Linked DNA regions of Homo sapiens: region 1 is linked to region 2. The links are contacts of gene promoters, found by promoter capture Hi-C in human tissues and cell types (Jung and others, 2019). All regions are on one chromosome and are shown on one strand. The core of a region is centred on a gene start or on the middle of the fragment in contact, and the rest is flanking DNA. Distances in the headings are between cores, read along the strand shown.

Region 1 (3,708 bases), core at 597-3,096, 57 kb before region 2:
GAATTCAGAGACAGACAGGCTTTGTAGATTCTATATGGGATTTGTGTGTGTGTATGTGTGTGTGTGTGTGTGTGTGTGTGTGTGTGTGAGACAAGCCTGTTATTCTGTACTATAAAATTTTTAACTAAAAAAAAATTATATTATTAGTTTGGTGCAAATGTAATTGCAGTTTTTGCACTGTTGAAATTTGCCATTTAATACTGGAATACACTCTTAAATAAATGGTTATGTTATACATCATTTTAATGCACATTTCTTGCCTTTTCTTGCTAATAACGTATTTTTTGCTTTTTTTTTAGACTATGGAAATTATGTTAGACAAAAAGCAAATTCAAGTGATTTTCTTGAGTTCAAAATGGGTCGTGAAGCAGTGGAGACAACTCACAACATCAACTACACATCTGGCCCAGAAACTGTGCAGTGGTGGTTCAAGAAGTGTTGCAAAGGAGACGAGAGCCTTGAAGATGAGGAGTGTAGTGGCCGGCCAGAAGTTGGCAATGACCAACTGAGAGCAATCATCGAAGCTGATCCTCTTACAACTACACGAGAAATTGCCGAAGAACTCAATGTCGACCATTCTACCCTTGTTTGGCAGGCAATTGAAGCCAACTGGAAAGGTGAAAAAGTTTTTTTTGTTTGTTTGTTTTTGAGATGGAGTCTCACTCTATCACCTAGGCTGGAGTGCAGTGGTGTGATCTGGGCTCACTGCAACCTCTACTTCCTGTGTTCAAGCGATTCTCGTGCCTCAGCCTCCCTAGTTGCTGGGATTACACATGCCCGCCACCATGCCCAACTAATTTTTGTATTTTTAGTAGACATGGGGTTTCACCACGTTGGCCAGGCTGGTCTTGAACTCCTGGCCTCAAGTGATCTGCCCACCTCCGCCTCCCAAAGTGCTGGGAATACAGGCGTGGGCTACCACGCCCAGCCAAAAGGTGAAAAAGCTTGATAAGTGGGTGCCTCATGAGCTGACCGAAAATTTTAAAAATTGTCGATTTGAAATGTTGTCTTCTCTTATTCTACGTAACGACGACGAACCATTTCTTGGTTGGATTGTGATGTGCGACAAAAAGTGGATTTTATACAACAACAGTGATGACCAGCTAAGTGGCTGGACCGAGAAGACACTCCAAAGCACTTCCCAAAGCCGAACTTGCACCAAAAAGTGGTCATGGTCACTGTTTGGCGGTCTGCTCCTGGTCTGATCCACTACAGCTTTCTGAATCCCAGTAAAACCAATACATCTGAGAAGTATGCTCAGCAAATCGATGAGATGCACTGAAAACTGCAATGCCTGCAGCCAGCACTGGTCCACAGAAAGGGTCCAATTCTTCTCCACAACCACCCGACAACACGTTGCACAACCAACATTTCAAAAGTTGAATTGGGCTACGAAGTTTTGCCTCATCCACCATATTCAACTAACCACTCGCCAACCGACTACCACTTTTCCAAACATCTAGAAAATTTTTTGCAGGGAAAATGCTTCCACAACCAGCAGGATGCAGAAAATGCTTTCCAAGAGTTCATCGAATCTCAAAGCATGGATTTTTATACTACAGGTATAAACAAACTTATTTCTCATCGGTAAAAATGTGTTGATTGTAACAGTTCCTATTTTGATAAATGAAGATCTGTTTGGGCCTAGTTACAATGATTTAAAATTCACAATCCAAAACCACAATTAATTTTGCACCCACCTAACAGTACCTACATTTATTATTTCAACTGCTCTTCAACTTTTTTTTTTGAGATGGAGTCTCCCTCTGTCAACCAGGCTGGAGTGCAGTGGCACGATCTCAGCTCACTGCAACCTCCACCTCCCAGGTTCAAGTGATTCTCCTGCCTCAGCCTCCTGAGTAGCTGGGATTACAGATGCCCACCACCGCGCCCCGTTAATTTTTGTATTTTTAGTAGAGATGGGGTTTTGCCATGTTAGCCAGGCTGGTCTCAAACTCCTGACCTCACCTGCCCACCTTGGCCTCCCAAAGTGCTGGTATTATAGGCACGAGCCACTGCATCCAGCCTAATCTTACTCTTTAAAAGAATAAAGTAAGGGCCGATAATAACAAATGTCTTAACCCAGAAATCTAACCTTTTTGAATTATGTTATCCATTCACAGAAGCATTTAAAACACTACAAGTGTGCAGTAAACTAACAGCAAAAGCCAACAAGCTCTAATCACTTAAACTCTAGAGGATATGTGACACAGCTCTTCCTAAAATATCACCAGATGGCTATATAAACTTAGAACGGCTCAACTCCCAGCTGTATATTAACACCAAAACTCCAATAAGCCTATACTGTCATAATAAAAATCGTTTGCCTAAGCATCTTCCAATTCATATTAGATGTATTAATATAAACCATATCCCATCTGAGTTGCCACAACTCCATTTGATATTTAAAACATACCACAACACACACACACACACACACACACACACACACACGGATACAGAACTTGGGAGTTCGGGCTGAGTTCTGTGTTTACAGAGTGCATAGAAACTGATTTTTCTTAAGGTGTCTTTTATAATTCTCAATCAGCTTATTAAGAAGAAAAAAACTAGATGGCTCAGTCCTCTTGGGTTTAATTGTGATCAAATCCCAGAATGTCTTTAGTCATAGTGGAGTTCACAATGATAAAGTTCAAATCAGCTTACCTGCCCCACTCCTCCCATACTACTTCCTACCGCTGCCACTCCTCTTAGGAACTGGAGCCAGTTAACCACCCACTTTCTCAATGGTGAGTGCGACATAAACCTTCAGAAGACATCCAGTGAAAAATAAAGACTTTAAAATAGCAGTTTTTGGCTGAGCGTGGTGGCTCACACCTGTAATCCCAGCACTTTGGAAGGTCAAGATGGGCGGGTCACCTGCGGTCAGGAGTTCAAGACCAGCCTGGCCAACATGGCGAAATCCCATCTCTAAAAAATACAAAAAATCAGCTGGCTGTGGTGGCTTCTGCCTGTAGTCTCAGCTACTTGGGAGGCTGAGACACGAGAATGGCTTGAACCCAAGAGGTGGAGGTTGCAGTGAGCTGAGATCACGCCACTGCACTCCAGCCTGGGTGACAGAGTGAGACTCCGTCTTAAAAAATAAAAAATAAAATAAAATAGCAGTTTTTCCTACGTATAAAAGTAATACATGCTCGTTGTAGAAAAATGGGAAACTCTAAAAGAATAAGAAGCAAAAAAGCCACATTATCCCACCAAGACAGAAATTAATCACTACTAATATTTCCATTCATGGCCATCCAGGGTCTCTTCTATATATAAGTGTCTTAGTTCATTTACCAAACAGGATTTTAAATACTGCAGAACAAGCGGGAAGTAGCATACTAGTTCTTTGGAAGACTAATTTTCTTCATTGTAAAGTTACACTTACTGCTGAGTAAGTCAACCATATGTACAAGAAACTGGAGAGAATGACAAAGGTGAGGGGAATCATACCTGCTCTTTTTCATTCACTCACAGCAAACCATGGAGTCCATGTTTTGGGAACCATTATGTACGCAAAGACCAACTAATGAGTATGTTTCCTTTATAAATAGCAGCCTACTAAATAAACAAATACATACATACAAATATACAGTCTTGCCACAGGAGTTACACACACAGTGAAAGGAATGACATTAAGAGTATTTTTTTTGTCACCATGAAAGTATCTTAAGAGAAAGTAAAGGGATATGTGAAAGGTTGATCTAA
Region 2 (3,866 bases), core at 1,367-3,866:
GTGAGACTCCATCTCATTTAAAAAAAAAAAAAAGTCAAAGAGATAATATGTGTAAAATGCTTATTCCAGTGCCTGGGATGAAGCAAGGGTTTGACAAATGTGGTCATTATTATCACAACTGTCTTTATCTCTCTGCACCTCTACTTCCTCTGCTGCAGACCTGGGGTTGATATGCATCCTCCAAGTATCTGTGGCAGGCAGACTCTAGAATGGCCTCCATTGATTCACATCTTTTGGTATTCATGCCCTTGTGTAATCCCCTGTGGGCAAATCCTGTGACTTGCTACTAACAAATAGAACATGGCAAAACTGATGTCACTTTCTTGATTAGGTTACATGAGGTTGTAATTTCTCTCTTCTTAGTAGAATCTCCTATTGCCTCCTTTTGTTTGTTTGAGACAGGGTCTTGCTCTGTTGTGCAGGCTGGAGTGCAGTGGTGTGATCACAGCTAACTGCAGCCTCGAACTCCTGGGCTCAAGCAATTCTCCTGCCTCGACCTCCTAAGTAGCTGGGACTACAGGCATGCACCAGCATGCCTGGCTAATTTTAAATTTTTTTTTGTAGAGACGAAGTCTCGCTATGTTGCCTAAGATGGCCTCAGACTTCTGGGCTCAAGCAATCTTCCCACCTTAGCCCCCCGAAGTGTTGGGATTATAGGCATGAGCCACGGTGCCCGGCCCCTATTGCCTTCTTTTATTTATTTATTTATTTTTAATTTTTAGAGACTGGGTCTTGCTATGTTGCTCAGGCTCAATTTGAACTCCTAGGCGCAAACAATCCTCCTGCTTCAGCCTCCCAACCTGCTGGAACCATAAGCATGTGCCACCACTCTTGGCTTCCCTATTAACTTTTAGGCTTGCATGCTTTGATGAAGCAGGCTGCTACACTGGAGAAGCCTACGTGACAAGCCTTTAGCCAAAATCCAGCTAGGAACTGAGACCCTTAGTCCAACAACCATTAAGGAACTGAATTTAGCCACTAGACATGGGAAGCAGATCCTTTTTGAGTTGAGCCTTTAAATGAGACTCCAGCCCTGGCCGATATCTTGATTGCAGTCTTGTGGGTGACCCTGATGCAGAGGAGCCAGCTATGCCATCCTCAGATTCCTGGCCCACAGAAAATGTGAGATAATAAATATGTTTGTTGGCCAGGTGTGGTGGCTCACGCCTGTAACCCCAGCACTTTGGAAGGCTGAGGCAGGCGGATCACGACGTCAAGAGATCGAGACCATCCTGGCCAACATGGTGAAACTCCGTCTCTACTAAAAATACAAAAATTAGCTGGGCCTGGTGGCTCATGCCTGTAGTCCTGCCTACTTGGGAGGCTGAGGCAGGAGAATCGCTTGAACCCACTGTAACCTCCGGGAGGCAGAGGTTACAGTGAGCCAAGATCACACCACTGCACTCCAGCCTGGTGACAGAGTGAGACTCTGTCTCAAAATAAATAAATAAATAAATGTGTTTGTTATAAGTGGCAAGCAGTGTGTTGTTATAAGTTTGTGGTAATATGTTATGCAGCAATACAAAACTAATATAATATCCAGCCCCTCTCATCTCATTTCTGGTTTACAGCCCATCTCTCCTATTTCCTTAGCACCCTGCATTCATCACACTGACTCATTGCTATTGGTTTTCTTGCACTTCCTATCCTGTAAGCCCCTTGAAGACAGGCACTGAACTAAGCATTCCTTGTAGCCCTAGTGCAGATAGCAGGGGTTGGCAGGAGTGTCCTGGGAAATATTTCACAATCCCAGGGTGGGGTTGTGTTCTCCATTCGGGGGCTTCTATAACACCCCAATAATGATGGTGGTTGGTTTTGAATTCTTACTGTGTACCAGGCACTGAGATGAAGCCAGGAATGTGTGTTCTTAACAAGTTTTCTGTGATGATTCTGATCCATAGTCAGGCTTAGGAACCACTAAACCTACATTACCTGAGACATTCTGTAGAAAAAATTGCATCCTTCTCTTAGGATAGCTATACTTGTAACTTCCTTAAACAAAACAGAACAAAACTGTATTGCATACATACAGAAAAATGCACAAATCTTAAGCGTACAATTTGATGAATTTTCCAAAGTGAACACATCTACATGGCTACCACCGAGATGAAGACAGGGGGTGACCCCAGCCTCACTTGTGGCCCCTCCCAGCCCACAGCCCCAGAGGAAACCACCAATTTTAACACCATCACTACTCATGAGTTCTGTCTGTTCTAGAATTTCCCGTAAATGAAATCGCAGTCTGTACTTGTACATCTGCTTAACATTATGTTCGTGCTTTTGACTTGTTAAAATTTCTCTTCTGGATTAAATATGTAAAACGGTGACTAAGGAGGTCGGGCAGAAGGTGGAAGCCTGGGATTCCGAGACGTCCTCTCAGGTGCCATACTTGGATTTCCCGAGAGGTGTAATCACACAGCCCGCCCTCAGCTGACCTATTCTCTGCTTAAGCAGGAAGGGAGATAGGAGGGGAAGGGGGCGTGGCTACAGACGCCGAGTGTGGGGCGGAGTCTTAAGAAGAGAGGCGCAACCCGGGTCCGGCTTCCCGGCGGTAGTTTGCTCGGCTCTGGGGGCGGGGCCAGGCCGAGACTTCCTGTCTGCTCCTGCGGAATCGCAGTTTGACCCCGGAAGTGCGGGCGCTCAGGGAGCTGTCACCGTGGTCGGCGGCGGCGGCGGCGGCGGCGGCACAGAGCCGGTGGTGGAGCCGCCGAGGTGAGTGCGTGGCTGGTCCCTGCCAGATGCAGGGCAAGGGACCCCGGAGGAGCCGCGGCTATGCCTTGGGCAGCCTTGGCTCTCCCATCCTCTGGCCTCCATTGCGGGGCCCACGCTTACGCTACCTGAGGGGTTGTGAGCCGCCTCTCGAGACTTGGCCGCCAGGGTCAGGAGCCACGGGTTCGAAGTTCGGCCCCAGAGTGGCGTTGGACCAGCCACGATCCCCCCACGTCCTCACACCCGGGGCTTCAGTTTCCTCAGGGTTCATTCATTCGTTCAGCAAATATTTGTGGAGTGCTTCCTATGTGCCAGACACAGATCTAGACATTGGGGATACAAAGAAAGCAAGACAGACAAGGCTTCTGCCCTCATGGAGCTTACAGTCTAGTGGGAGGAGATGGTCAACGACAAGCAAATGCACAAGGTCATTAAAGCTATGACAGTAACTGGGAGAGTGGATACTATAGGCAGAGCCATCAGAAGGTCTCTGAGGAGAGTAGTATTTAATTGAGAGACTAGAGGAATGATGACAAAGAGGCTGAGGGAGCAGTAGCCCCGGGGATGCTCCCAGGCCATATTGCAATTGGGTGCTTGTAGGGAGCTCCCCCTCCCTTTCTTAGCTTTTGGCTTTTGCTGTCCTGCCTGGCAGGGGAATACAGTGGTGGGCACAGACATAGTCATGATTATTGTTTGTCCTTTTGGAGCTCAAAGTTCAGATTGTCCAGTTAATTTATTTTTTCCCCCCAAGACGGGGTCTTGCTCTGTCGCCCAGGCTGGAGTGCAGTGGCGTGATCTCGTCCCACTGCAACCTCCGCCTCCCGGGTTCAAGCGATTCTCCTGCCTCAGCCTCCTGAGTAGCTAGGATTACAGGCATGCACCACCACGCCCTGCTAATTTTTTTTTTTTTTTTCGGTAGAGACGGGGTTTCACCTTGCTAGCCAGGATGGTCTCGATCTCCTGGCCTCGTGATCCGCCCGCCTTGGCCTCCCAAAGCGCTGGGATTACAGGCGTGAGCCATCGCGCCCAGCCCTGCCTACTTAATTTGTACCCGTGCTTTAGACAAAAACTCAGGTCTTCCTTGACATCACTTCTTCCTCAAGCCAGGTCTCTCTTTTAAATGCTGCCACAGCTTCATGAGCCTTATCTACATAGCT

Evidence for each region. Contacts are between HindIII fragments. The study calls those that stand out against the background at their distance.
Region 1: a fragment that was not itself captured here is called in contact with the fragment with the promoter of ASCC2 in region 2 in 2 of the 25 tissues and cell types used here (spleen and thymus).

Annotation. Positions count from the first base shown.
Region 1 is chr22:29,893,250-29,896,957 of GRCh38, reverse strand. The region is part of intron 1 of MTMR3 (myotubularin related protein 3); the gene reads right to left. Among named protein-coding and RNA genes, the nearest start is that of MTMR3, 12 kb to the right of the region's middle. The HindIII fragment of the contact is 5,497 bases long and covers 1-3,708 here.
Region 2 is chr22:29,837,024-29,840,889 of GRCh38, reverse strand. It overlaps ASCC2 (activating signal cointegrator 1 complex subunit 2), which reads left to right and starts at 2,616. Exons shown (of 20, transcript NM_032204.5): 1 at 2,616-2,712. RefSeq lists an enhancer at 2,284-2,343. The HindIII fragment of the contact is 14,310 bases long and covers 1-3,866 here.